Regions from separate parts of the Homo sapiens genome. Here regions 1 and 3 are each linked to region 2. The links are contacts of gene promoters, found by promoter capture Hi-C in human tissues and cell types (Jung and others, 2019). All regions are on one chromosome and are shown on one strand. The core of a region is centred on a gene start or on the middle of the fragment in contact, and the rest is flanking DNA. Distances in the headings are between cores, read along the strand shown. Region 1 has its middle 20 kb from the start of C8orf33. Region 2 holds the start of ZNF250 (zinc finger protein 250). Region 3 holds the start of C8orf33 (chromosome 8 open reading frame 33).

The links. Contacts are between HindIII fragments. The study calls those that stand out against the background at their distance.
Region 1: a contact is called between a fragment that was not itself captured here and the fragment with the promoter of ZNF250 in region 2, in 2 of the 25 tissues and cell types used here (lymphoblastoid cells and mesendoderm cells).
Region 3: the fragment with the promoter of C8orf33 here is called in contact with the fragment with the promoter of ZNF250 in region 2 in 1 of the 25 tissues and cell types used here (IMR-90 fibroblasts).

The regions. Positions count from the first base shown.
Region 1 is chr8:145,030,722-145,034,574 of GRCh38, forward strand. It overlaps the pseudogene LOC124902043. Among named protein-coding and RNA genes, the nearest start is that of C8orf33, 20 kb to the right of the region's middle. The HindIII fragment of the contact is 4,725 bases long and covers 1-3,615 here.
Region 2 is chr8:144,900,079-144,904,141 of GRCh38, forward strand. It overlaps ZNF250 (zinc finger protein 250), which reads right to left and starts at 1,375. Exons shown (of 6, transcript NM_001109689.4): 1 at 1,321-1,375. It overlaps LOC124902042, which reads left to right and starts at 1,546. Exons shown (of 1, transcript XM_047422534.1): 1 at 1,546-2,203. The coding sequence starts at 1,604. The coding sequence ends at 2,203. RefSeq lists enhancers at 721-1,325, 1,326-1,928, 1,929-2,532 and silencers at 1,059-1,168, 2,229-2,308. The HindIII fragment of the contact is 10,274 bases long and covers 1-4,063 here.
Region 3 is chr8:145,050,098-145,054,454 of GRCh38, forward strand. It overlaps C8orf33 (chromosome 8 open reading frame 33), which reads left to right and starts at 2,370. Exons shown (of 5, transcript NM_023080.3): 1 at 2,370-2,400; 2 at 2,489-2,800; 3 at 2,965-3,049; 4 at 3,200-3,346; 5 at 3,921-4,357. The coding sequence starts at 2,395. The coding sequence ends at 4,060. RefSeq lists enhancers at 1,796-1,925, 1,966-2,015, 2,944-3,744 and a silencer at 2,226-2,295. The HindIII fragment of the contact is 15,142 bases long and covers 1-4,357 here.

The DNA of each region.
Region 1 (3,853 bases), core at 3-2,502, 130 kb after region 2:
CTTGTGCACGGCTATGTTATGACACATCACCAGATTAATAAATTTAAACCTAATAAGAAGCCCTGCCCTAGGCAGGCCACTAAATGGTCTGGAAAGCTAGAGGTGCTAACCTGGGAAGATTGTATTGCAAACAGCGATGCTGTACTGCAAAATAATTCCTATGGAATCATCATTGATTTGGCCCCTAGGAGAGGCTTTGCAGTAAATTGTACTGGACAGCGTGAAGATTGTAGAGAGACTCCTTTTGCAAACGACCACCCAGATTATGCACCAAAATTATATAGAAGAATGGAAGCACATTTCCCTATTAAGTGGGAGGGGAATGGTATGGCTCCTTCAAGCCCCAAAATAATTGATCCAATTATAAGTCCAGAACATCCAGAATTGTGGAAATTAATGATGGCTCAAACCCAATTCGGATTTGGAAAGGAGAATATAAAACAGAGACCCATAGTAAAAACTTCAATTTGTTGTAGCCATGACTTCTAATCAGATGGTCCCATTGCAGAGTTGTGTTAAACCTCCTCTTATGTTGGCAGTGGGAAAAATTAATATCCTACCTGACTCTCAAACCATATCATTCCTCAACTGTCATCTTTTTACCTGCATTAATTCTACCTTTAATAAAGATAATAACATTTTACTGGTTAGGGCCTGAGAAGGAGTTTGGATACCTATTTCCCTCAATAGACCTTGGGAGTCCTCTCCCTCCATACATATTATCACTGAATTACTAAAAGGAATACTTAATAGATAAAAGAGATGCATATTTACTTTAATAGCTGTGATCATGGGCCTTATAGCTGTCACAGCTGCTGCTGCTGTTGCTGGTGTTGCTTTGCACACTTCTATTCAAACTGTGGGCTTTGTGGATAGTTGGCAGAAAAATTCTTCTAAGCTTTGGAATCCCCAAAGCCAAATAGATCAAAAATTGGCAAATCAAATTAATGATCTCCATCAAACAGTAATGTGGATGGGAGATTGGATTATGAGCTTGGAGCATAGAATTCAAATGCAACGTGATTGGAATACTTCTGATTTTTGTATTACTCCTAGCTCTTACAATGCCAGTGAACACCATTGGGAGATGATTAGATGTCACCTACAAGGAAAAGAAGATAATTTATCATTAGATATTGCTAAACTGGAAAAACATGTTTTTGAGACATCTAAGGTTCATCTCACCCTGTTGCCTGGAGATGATATTCTTGCTGGAGCTGCTGATGGCCTTTCTAATACCAATCCTTTAAAGTGGATTAAAACCATAGGTGGATCAACAATTGCAAATTTTATTTTGGTTTGTGTCTGTTTATGCTGTTTGTTTTTAGTCTACAGATGTGGATGATGCCTTGGGAGAGAAGCCAGACACCGTGAATGAGCCATGATAGCAATGGCAGTTATTAATCAAAAAAAATTAATAAAGACAAAAAAGGGGGACATGTGGGAAAGAGAGTTTCTAGGGTGCCAGTTGAGTTGGTCTCCCCTGTGTGAGACACCCATGGGAAGCCATGGGCAGCCTCTGGGGGGAAAAGTCTCCTTATTGCCTTCATGTCTTTATGCCCTGAGAGCATAACTGCTCAGCAGCATTCCACAGGTTGCTCAGGGAGATAACACTCCCTTGAAGCAGTGGAGTATAATCAAACATCTTGGCTCCTCCTGAAACCCGCAAGATCTTAAGTAGTTTAGACATACACCTCTGCTCAAGGAAATTCACAGAAACCGCCACTGCTATACATCTTATCGAATGACTCACGAGTTCTCCTTCACTGATTAATCCTTTTTCCCACCCCTTCCTCCCCCTCCCATCTGCCTTAAGAACAAAGAGCTTGTAGACCAATAAATTGGGCAGAGCCTGAGAGCTCTGGGCCATGAGCAAGCCTCCAACACTCTTGTCCCCTGGACCTGCCTTTTAAATGCTTATTCTGTCTCTTTCCAACTCCTTTGTCTCTGCTGGATTTGGGGTACCCACTGGGTGTTGTGGGGCTGGTTTCCCCAACAGTGGAAAAAAGGCTGGCCTCACTGTTTATGGGTAGTTGTGGCAGTGGCAATCTCAGTATCAGAGGCTATGAAAATAATACAAGGAAAGGATCTCACCATCTGGACTACTCATGATGTAAATGGCATAATAGGTGCCAAAGGTAGTTTATGGCTATCAGACAACTGCCTGCTTAGATACCAGCTGCTACACCTTGAGGGACTGGTGCTTCAAATATGCACATGTGCAGCCCTAAACCCTGTCACCTTTCTCCCAGAGGATGGAGGACCAGTTGAGCACTACTGCCAACAAATTATAGTCCAGACTTATGCCACTGAGAGGATCTCTTAGAAGTCCCCTTAGTTAATCCTGACCCTAACCTATATACCAATGGAAGTTCATTTGTGGAGAATTGGATATGAAGGGCAGGTTATGCCATAGTTAGTGATGTAACGGTACTTGAAAGTAAGCCTCTTCCCCCAGGGACCAGTGCCCAGTTAACAGAACTAGTGGCACTTACCCAAGCCTTAGGACTGGGAAAGGGAAAAAGAATAAATGTGTATACAGATAGCAATCATGCTTATGTAATCCTACATGCCCATGCTGCAATATGGAAAAAAAGGGAGTTCCTAACCTCTGGGGGAACCCCCATTAAATACCACAAGGAAATCTTGGAGTTATTGCACGCAGTGCAAAAACCCAAGGAGGTGGCAGTCTTACACTGCAAAGCCATCAAAAAGAGGAAGGAGAGCAGAGAACAGCAGCATAAGTGGCTGGCAGGGCACTTGACAAAGAGAAGGACAAAGAGAAGGAAAGAGAGAGAGAGGGAGAGAGAGGAAAGACAGAAAGTCAAAGAGAGAAGGAAAGAGAGAGGGATAGAGAGAGGGAAAGACAGAAAAAGAGAGAAGGAAAGAGAGAGAGGAAGAGACAAAGAGGAAGTCAGAGAGAAAGAAAGAGAGACAGAAAGTCAAAGAGAAGGAGAGGAAGAGACAGACAAAGAGGGAGTCAGAGAAAGAGAGAAAGAGACAAAGTCAAAGAGAGAAACAGAGAGACAGAAAGTCAAAGAAAGAGAGAGAGAAGTATTAAAGAAAAAACAGTGTACCCTATTCCTTTAAAAGCCAGGGCAAATTTAAAACCTATAATTGATAATTGATTTAAAACCACAATGAGATACCATCTCACACCAGTTAGAATGGCAATCATTACAAAGTCAGGAAACAACAGGTGCTGGAGAGGATGTGGAGAAATAGGAACACTTTAACACTGTTGGTGGGACTGTAAACTAGTTCAACCATTGTGGAAGTCAGTGTGGTGATTCCTCAGGGATCTAGAACTAGAAATACCATTTGACCCTGCCATCCCATTACTGGGTGTATACCCAAAGGACTATAAATCATGCTGCTATAAAGACACATGCACACGTATGTTTATTTCGGCATTATTCACAATAGCAAAGACTTGGAACCAACCCAAATGTCCAACAATGATAGACTGGATTAAGAAAATGTGGCACATATACACCATGGAATACTATGCAGCCATAAAAATGATGAGTTCACGTCCTTTGTAGGGACATGGATGAAATTGGAAATCATCATTCTCAGTAAACTGTCGCAAGGACAAAATACCAAACACCGCATGTTCTCACTCATAGATGGGAATTGAACAATGAGAACACATGGACACAGGAAGGGGAACACCACACTCTGGGGACTGTTGTGGGGTGGGGGGAGGGGGGAGGGATAGCATTAGGAGATATACCTAATGCTAAATGATGAGTTAATGGGTGCAGCACACCAGCATGGCACATGTATACATATGTAACTAACCTGCACATTGTGCAGATGTACCCTAAAACTTAAAGTATAATAAAAAATA
Region 2 (4,063 bases), core at 125-2,624:
GCTGGCAAATCACAAAGAAATACAAATGGCGAAAACACAAATGAAGGGATTTCAATCTCACCAATAAACGCAAAACGTCGACCTGGCAGGAATGCAGTGACCTGTCAAAGCCCACAGGACCAGAGTCCCGTCCAGGGCGGGAATGTCAATGGCAATCTCCCACCCTTACCCACTTCGTAGAGACCACCGGACAGAGAAACCTATGTCCAGAAGACAAGTTACGAACTGAAAAATCTGCGAGTACCCACCCGGCGGAGGACGAGTGGAGCGCCCCCTGCCGCCCCTGGTGTTAGTCAAACGACACCAGCTTCCCTTTGATGACAGAAAAAAGGGTGTGCGTGCGTGCCTAAAGCTCTAACGGCATTCAAAAATTCTGAAACTGTTCACAGCTCCTGCCTCTTCATACACTGGCAGAGTGTCGGGGGGGATGACTTTTATATATTTCTGACATGCCTGCATTAGAAGAAGTATTGCATATTATTTTCAATTTTAAAATTAAGCCAATAAACAACAAGGAAAATATTTGCTGTGTTGCAAAGAGTTGGGCTCATTCATTAAAATAGGGCTCTAACACAGTAACAGAAAAGACAGCATCGACAGCAAAATGGGGAGAGGATAAGACACCCGGCAAGTAGCACACTCGACCAACTGCTGAAACGAAAGCAGCTCGTTTTCGTCTTGACGCGGGAAGACTTTTTATAGCTAAGTAAAGTGGCGCTCCCGGTGCGCCGCCGGGGTCTTCATGGGGCTCCTCAGGATGTGCATCAAACAGAAAAAACCTCCATTTTTATATTTTGGGGAAGCTCCCCACCCCTTTCCGGGCCCATCCCAGGGGACGCGAGACCCCGAGGAGCGCGGCAAGAAGAGCGGCCCGGGGGTCCGGACTGCGCCCCTAGGACTCCGGCCATCCTGGCCCTAGGCACGGCGCCCGGTAGAAAGCGCGCGGGAGGGCACGAGGGGGAGGAAGGCCGGAGATCTGAGGAGATCCAAGGTGGGAGGGACGCCGGTCTGACGGGGCCCAAGGGGGTAGGGGCGGGGAAGGGACCGAGGCCGTCCGAGGCGGACGGGGGTGCGGGAGGGCCTGAGGGGGTCCAAGGCCGGGCGAGGGGAAGGGTGGGAACCCCGAACGGGGGAGAGGGCGCGGCCTTGGCCCTGGGGAGGAGGCCGCCGCGCGTCCGTGAGGGGAGGGGACCAGCGTAAACGCAGGAGGCAGTGCGTGCTCGCGGGGAAGAGTCCACGATTCGTGTGGAGGACGCACCGGCTCCGGTGTCCGTGATGGGAGAGGGTCCTGGCCGGCGACGACACGCGCCCCCCACTCACCGTCAGAGCCGCAGCCTCACGCGCGAAGGAACGGCATCCCGCAGCACCTTCAGACAAAGGGCTGCCCCGCCCCGTCTGCGCAGCCGCCAATCCCTGGGGGCTCCTGCCCCTCAGTTCCCGCCCCCACAGCCGAGTTCGCCAATCCTGGAGGGCAAGCATGTTTACGTCATTTGGCCCGCCTGCCCGCCCGAAGCCTTTCTCGGTGACCGACTGCAGGGAGCTCTCAGGAGCCACCGAGAGCCAGACCTCCGCGATCCCTAGAGGGGCCGAACACCTCTGGGCAATGGGCCCGGCCGGCTCCCCGGCCGCACTTCCGGGCGCGGAGGTTACAGCCCATCGCCGAGCCTTACCCGCTCGCAGTCCCGGTTCCCGAGCTCCTGCCGCCGTCGCCCTGTGGAGGACACCCCTGCCGGCCCCGCAGTCCCTCCTCGACTTGCGCTGGCTTCGGCCGTCCTGGAACTCGAGCTCGTTCCCCCCTCCGAGCCTTTTGCCCTTGCGGTTCCCGCTGCTGGGAACGACCTTGCCCTCAGCCGCCTGGCTGGTCCCTGCGCCGCTGCAGTGCGAATGTCGCCTTCTCAGGGGCCCTTTCTCTTCCTTCGTTGCAACACTGAAGTCCTCTTGTTTGATGACTTGCGTGAGGTTATTCCTCCCACTTAGGAGGCTGAGTGCTGCGAGGTCCGAGGCGCAGCCGCTCTTCGCTGTGTCCGGCCCGGCGTGCTCCCGACAGGGGGCGTCACTGAACAGCGACCGTCTCCGTCGCCCACTCGGCCCTGGTGTTTGCTTTTTGGTGTGTTTACACCGCGCACCTGGGGGAGAGGGGCGGGCCTTCACGAGGGCGCGGGCCACACCCGTGTGGAGGCTTCGGGCACAGCCCAGGACCTGACAGCCGCGGCAGGGAGGGTGGGGCTGGTTTGGAGCGGTGTCAGGGGACGGGAAGGCTGACGCCTAGTCCACCTTCTGCTGGCCCCACTCCCGAAGGTCAGGTCCGCGTCGTCCATTGGGCGCGTGGGCGGGCCCAGACTCTCAAGAGGCTTCCCCACAGGGCGGGGCTGGGGGCTGCGTGGGGGCGGCGGGGAAGGCTTAAGGTTAGGGGGTAGGCTTGAAGCGAGTGCCCGGCCCGTGCTGTTGGGAGCGGAGGCCGGGAGGATGTGGCGATAATTCCGTACTTGCCGCGCACCAGGCAGACGCGAAGTCTGTGCTACGCTTCAGCGAACTTAGCAGCCCTTGCGGGCAGGGGTTCGCACTTCACGGAGCTACCATCCACCACGCGCGTTTCGAGCAATGGGCCCGTTGCCTGGCGCACTAGAAGCCAAAACGGTGGCACCAGTTTTTGAGAAAAGAGAAGGCTTTATTATTTCAAGGTCGACGGCCAAGGAGACCGGAGGCATGGCTCAAATGTGGCTCCCACATGTGGGCTTAGGTCAAAGTCGACGGGTTAGGGAGGACAGGTTGGCACACAGAAGTGCTGGCGGGCAGGTTTCAATAGGAGGGCTTTAAACTTGGCCATTTATGGTAAGGTGTGGAATGGCAGGTTTCAGCACCAGATCTTCCAGGATAATGGACCCTTCCCTTCTGAAAGCGTTCCGCCCCTCAAGCTCCGGTCATGTCCCTGTCTTCTTGGCTCCACAGGGAGGAAACGTTGGTTCCGAGTTATGATTTTCCTCCTTTGTGCATGTCCGGGTTACATGACTTTCAGTTTTGGCTCTGCTATACCTCCTGTTACCAACAGAATAGGGTCAGTTTGGGCCAGTCTTGTGGTTACACCTCAGTGTCACAGGATTTCCTCTGCCAAAGGGCTGTGAAGCTCAGGACCAAGGTAATCAAAATTCAGCTCTACTATTGGATTGTCCTGGATTGTTTTAGCAGTTGACAGGGATCAAGCTCTGTCCCAGCAACCTTGATCCCAACAGAGAACTGATGCTCCTAGGACCTTCACCTCAGACCTCAGTGCATCCTGGTTTTTGTTTTTCTTCCTCCTCCACAACTTTTTTATTTTGCAAATGTTGATACATTCATAAAGGTTGAAAGAATAATACAATGAATACCTCCGTGCCCTTCACTTAGATTTAGCAGCTGACATCCTCTCTAGCACGTCCCTTCTGTGTCTCTGTCACTCTTTTTCCTTCAACAGCACAATGTTTATTGAGTGCTTGTGTGCTAAGCACTAAGTGTCGGGGCTACATCAGTGAACAAGCAAGTGCCTAACAAATCCATGTCTTTCTGGACCATACATGTGAATGGAGACAGTAGGCAATACGCAGAATAAATGTAGGAATTACAGAGTGTGTCCAGAGATGGTGAGGACTACAGAAGGTCTGGGCAGGTGCCATTGTGTCTGCTGGTTCACCTGGGCGACATGAGGCAGCAGCTGCCCCCTCTTCCTCTGGCTCCTTCAGCTCCAAGACTAAAGGCTCCAGCTTCTCCTATAGGGCAACAAAGGGGTTTCAGCGCATCCTGGGCTCCAGCTTGAGGTCACAGACCTCAACTTGTCTCTCCTCACTTTACATCCATCTTCCCTTCCCAACTGTCTGCCCTGTTCCAGCATCAGATGCAAAGACAACAGCCTTACAGGAACTGTTAACTATGTGCCACAATGGTGTAAGGCACAGTCCCTGCAACAAATCGTATATGATATATATAATATATATACACACAATTTACGTATCGTTCATGAGTATACAGTTTACTTTTTTTATTTTTTATCCTTTTTTTGAGACCGAGTTTCGTTGTCGCCCAGGCTGGA
Region 3 (4,357 bases), core at 1,120-3,619, 150 kb after region 2:
AGGATCAGTTGAGCCCAGGACAACCTAGGTGACAGAGTGAGACATGGACTCTAAGAAAAACAAAAGTTGTATATTTGAAAACACTGACTGTAAATAGAATTAAGTCTAATATGGCAGATTTAAAAACAAAGATAGAAATGAAGTCAAGACAAAAATAGCATATGAGTCAGGAAGGTAATGGATAAAATCAGAGCATTGAAAGTGAGGCAGGATAGGTAGTCAAGGAAGTAACCATGTCCTCGGGATGCAGCAACTGTTGTGACTGTGCAATCAGCACAATAAGCCTCTGCCTTCACATTGTGGTTAAGCTCTTTCAAGCAAAACTATCTTCAGTAGAGAATTTCCCCTGCAAAGAGCATGTACATTTTGATTTTACCTGTCCTCAGACTGACCTTTCGCTCATTATAATAGTAAAAAACAGAGCCCTGGTTGGAGGTTTAAGATGCTAATAAGACATGTGACATGTACGAACAATCATATACCAGCATGTAGAACAAGCATTGTATGACAAGAAGCATTGTATGAACAAGCATGTAAGAACATACAGCTACCGCACATGTGCACTCAGAGGACCATCCAGAACATACTCACTAGTAGCACCTCTTCCCAATTCCTTATGAATAATCATGTAAGACCCCCATAAAGGGAGTCTCCCTCATGCGTCTTTGCTGCCCCAACCTTATGAGCAGCTGGCCCTCAATCCTCTCTCTCTCTCTCAGGGTGTACTGTCTATTGTTCACTTAACTTTCCAAATATTCTTTCTCCTTTGTAATAAATTACTGTATGCCGCATCTCCTTTACTGCGTGTCCCGTTTAAATTCTGCGTGTTTTTTTTTTTTTTTTTTTTTTAGATGGAGTCTCGCTCTGTCACCCAGGCTGTAGTGCAGCGGTGCGATCTTGGCTCACTGCAAGCTCCACCTCCCGGGTTCATGCCATTCTCCTGCCTCAGCCTCCCGAGTAGCTGGGACTACAAGTGCCCGCCACTATGCCCGGCTAATTTTTTGGTATTTTTTAGTAGAGACGGGGTTTCACTATGTTAGCCAGGATGGTCTCAAACTCCTAACCTCGTGATCCGCCCGCATCGGCCTCCCAAAGTGTTGGGATTACAGGCGTGAGTCACCGCGCCCGGCCAATCCGCCGAATTTTGGGAGTAATGTATCACACTGCAGTAAATAACTATCAGTGATGACCAAACTGTAACCCTTCGAGACCTTGCAGACCAGGCAGCTAACACTTCCCACCCCACCGTCTCAGGAAACACCGCTTTCCACTCCTGTGTCCCCGAAAGGAATCATCAGACATCTCGGACTCTTACCTTCTCAAGCAACACAACCCACCCTCCTGGCATAGCCCGTTGCCCCCCTGAAACCCTACTCAGCCTCACCTCAACCCCTACGCAATTCCTCTCGGTTGTCATGCCTCCATCGGCGGGGGTCGAGTGTTGTGTGTGACCCCAGGTCTCTAGCAAGGTATAGTGGGAGGGAAGCATCCAGGGGAAGAGAGGTGGTGGGATGGGGCTCTCCCTCTCCCCCATACCGCCACCCTCCCTCACGTCCATATCCTGTCCAAGGCTCTTCCCGCGTCTGCTTCTGAAACCCCTCCACGTCCCTCCACCCCATGTGCCCCACTCGTTACACAAGAGCAGAGAGATCTGCAGAACATACGTCTACGATTATGCCACTCTTCAGATTTACATCTTGCAGCGACTTCCCACTGCGTTAGAACGGAAGTAAGCCCATGACGGGGGCCCTCCCAACTCTCAGACCTCACCCGAGCCTCCACGTCCCGAGACGCCGGCCTCTCAAACGACCGCGCCCTGACCCTCGCTCTTCCCCATTTCCCAGGGTCTTTGCCGACCACCCTCTTGCGCCGTAGCTGCTCACGTGCTGTTTACTTGCTTTTCCCTCCCCACCAAAAGGTGAGCCTTGAGAAGACACACCCTCGTGGAGAGCTTTGAACTTTTATCCGGAAAGGTGCCGGGCACGTAGTCAGCGCCCGCGATCACTCGCTCACAAGGGTTCTTCCGAGACCCCTCTTCAGCCTCTTCCCCGAACCCCCAGGCCCCGCCCCAGCCCCATCTCAGCTTCGTCCCAGGCGCGTCCCAGCTTCGCCCCGTCCCAGCTTCATCCCACCCCAGCCGCGCCCCGCCCCGCCCGCTCCCCGCCCCGCCCGCGCCCCGCCCGCGCCCCGCCCCGCCCGCGCCCCGCCCGCGCCCCGCCCGCGCCCCGCCCGCGCCCCGCCCGCGCCCCGCCCGCGCCCCGCCCGCGCCCCGCCCGCGCCCCGCCCGCGCCCCGCCCGCGCCCCGCGGAACCTAGAGTCGCAGGCGCGTTCTTGAAGGACGGAATTCGGCGTCGGACTCTGCGCCCCGCGTAGTTCCGGTGGCGACTGCGGCGCATGGCGGTGAGCGGTGTGGAGAAGACGCGCGGGTGGCTGGGCCTTGCATTGTTGGCGGCTCTCGGTGACCCTCGTGCTACCCCCCTTTCTCCAGGCCCTGGGACATCTTGCTGGGGAGGCAGCGGCGGCCCCAGGCCCGGGTACTCCCTGCGCGTCCCGCGGAGCCCGGCTTCCCGGCCCAGTTTCCAGCGCCCGGAATCCTTCCACTGTCTGTCTCTGCCCAGAGCAACCTACGTGCAGTAACGCTGACTCCAGAGCGCACCCGTTGGGCGATGAAGGCGGCACAGCGTCGAAAAAACAAAAGAATAAGAAGAAAACGCGGAACAGGGCCTCTGTGGCAAATGGAGGCGAGAAGGCCTCAGAGAAACTCGCCCCAGAAGAAGTTCCCCTAAGCGCTGAGGCCCAGGCAAGGGCGGGCTTCGGTCGGGAAGGGTGGAATCCACGGGTGCGAATCCACGGGCACGTGTGATCTGGGGTCCGCGGAGTTAAGGCGGGGAGGGGCATGGGATGGGGCCGGCGGCTATGGTTTTCCAGTGCCCTCTCACAGCCACTTCCCCAAATCCATCACAGGCACAACAGTTGGCCCAGGAATTGGCTTGGTGTGTGGAGCAACTGGAGCTGGGCCTCAAGAGGCAGAAACCCACCCCGAAACAGAGTAAGGGACCCTTCTGTAGAGCTGGGGGATGTGAACAGTGGCACTGCCTGGCCTGCAGGTGCTGGCAGAGTATGGAGTTGTTGGCTTTGCGGCGGGGTGGTAGGAGGTCAGTAATAGAGGTGTTCACTAGTCCTTTATTTTTATTCGCAGAAGAGCAGGCTATTGGAGCAATCCGAACCCTGCGCAGCAAAAGAACGCCCTTGCCCCGGAAGAGGCAGCTGATGCACTCCTTGTTTGGAGACTATAGGGCTCAGATGGAAGCCGAATGGCGTGAGGCCCTGCGGGCTCTCAGAGCTGGTGAGGAGCTAGCCACTGGTTGATTCAGGAAGGCCTAACTTAAGGAGGAAGTGTCTAGGGGGTGAAAGGAAGAAGGCCCAGAGCAACAAGCCTGGTGGGGGAAGGAGATGGGCTCAGGGAAGCCTGAGGGAGCAGGGAAACAGAAAGCGTGGACCTCTCTTTCCTCTTCCTAGGACTGAACCTGGGAAGCAGCGGGGAGGCCCTGGGAGGAGTGGGAAAGAGCATGGTCCTATGTTGGTCCTGCTCCTGGGTTGGGGAAAGCTGCCTCATGTCTTTGTGTCTTGGCTTTCTCTACTAGCAATGAAGCCATATCCCATAACAGTTTGAGTGCAATTCCTGGGGCCAGATCAGCTAGGTTCAAATCCTGGATCTACCACATAGTAGTACTAACACCTTTTGCAAACTACTGAACCTCTCTAAGTGGGGGATGATAGTAATATCAACCTTACAAATTTGAGGAATTAATCAGTTAATTTATGCAAGGTGGTTAGAATTGTATGGGCAAACATAACTGTACAGGTAATGTTAATTGTTATTATTCAGTTCTGACATACGCTGCTTCTCTCCCCGACAGCTGCTTATTCAGCCCAGGTGCAACCTGTAGATGGAGCCACCAGAAAGAAGAGCCAAAGGGTCTGCAGGCCTCGCTCTATATGGAGAGCCAAAGCCACTCTGGACATGCCTGATGAAGAGTTTAGGTTCAATTTCTTTTAGCGTCTCCCCGAACCTGAAACAATCCCCCTCCCTTGGGGTGGTGTAGGGGTTTGTTTTGAGTGCAGAGCCTTTCCAGGACTTCTGTTGTCAGAGAACCCTGGAGTTGGTCTGTCCCTGGCTGGTCCAAGGATTTGTAGCTGTTGTGAAGGTGTGAGACCATCAGATAGGCAAAAGACCCCGTTCGTTTTCTGATGAAATGTTCTCTCTTTCAGAAGAGAGAGAGAGGTGCATTTAGAAAATATGCAATAAATTGAAGTGAGTGTTCAAAGTATTGTAGAAGGAATATTGTACTCAGTC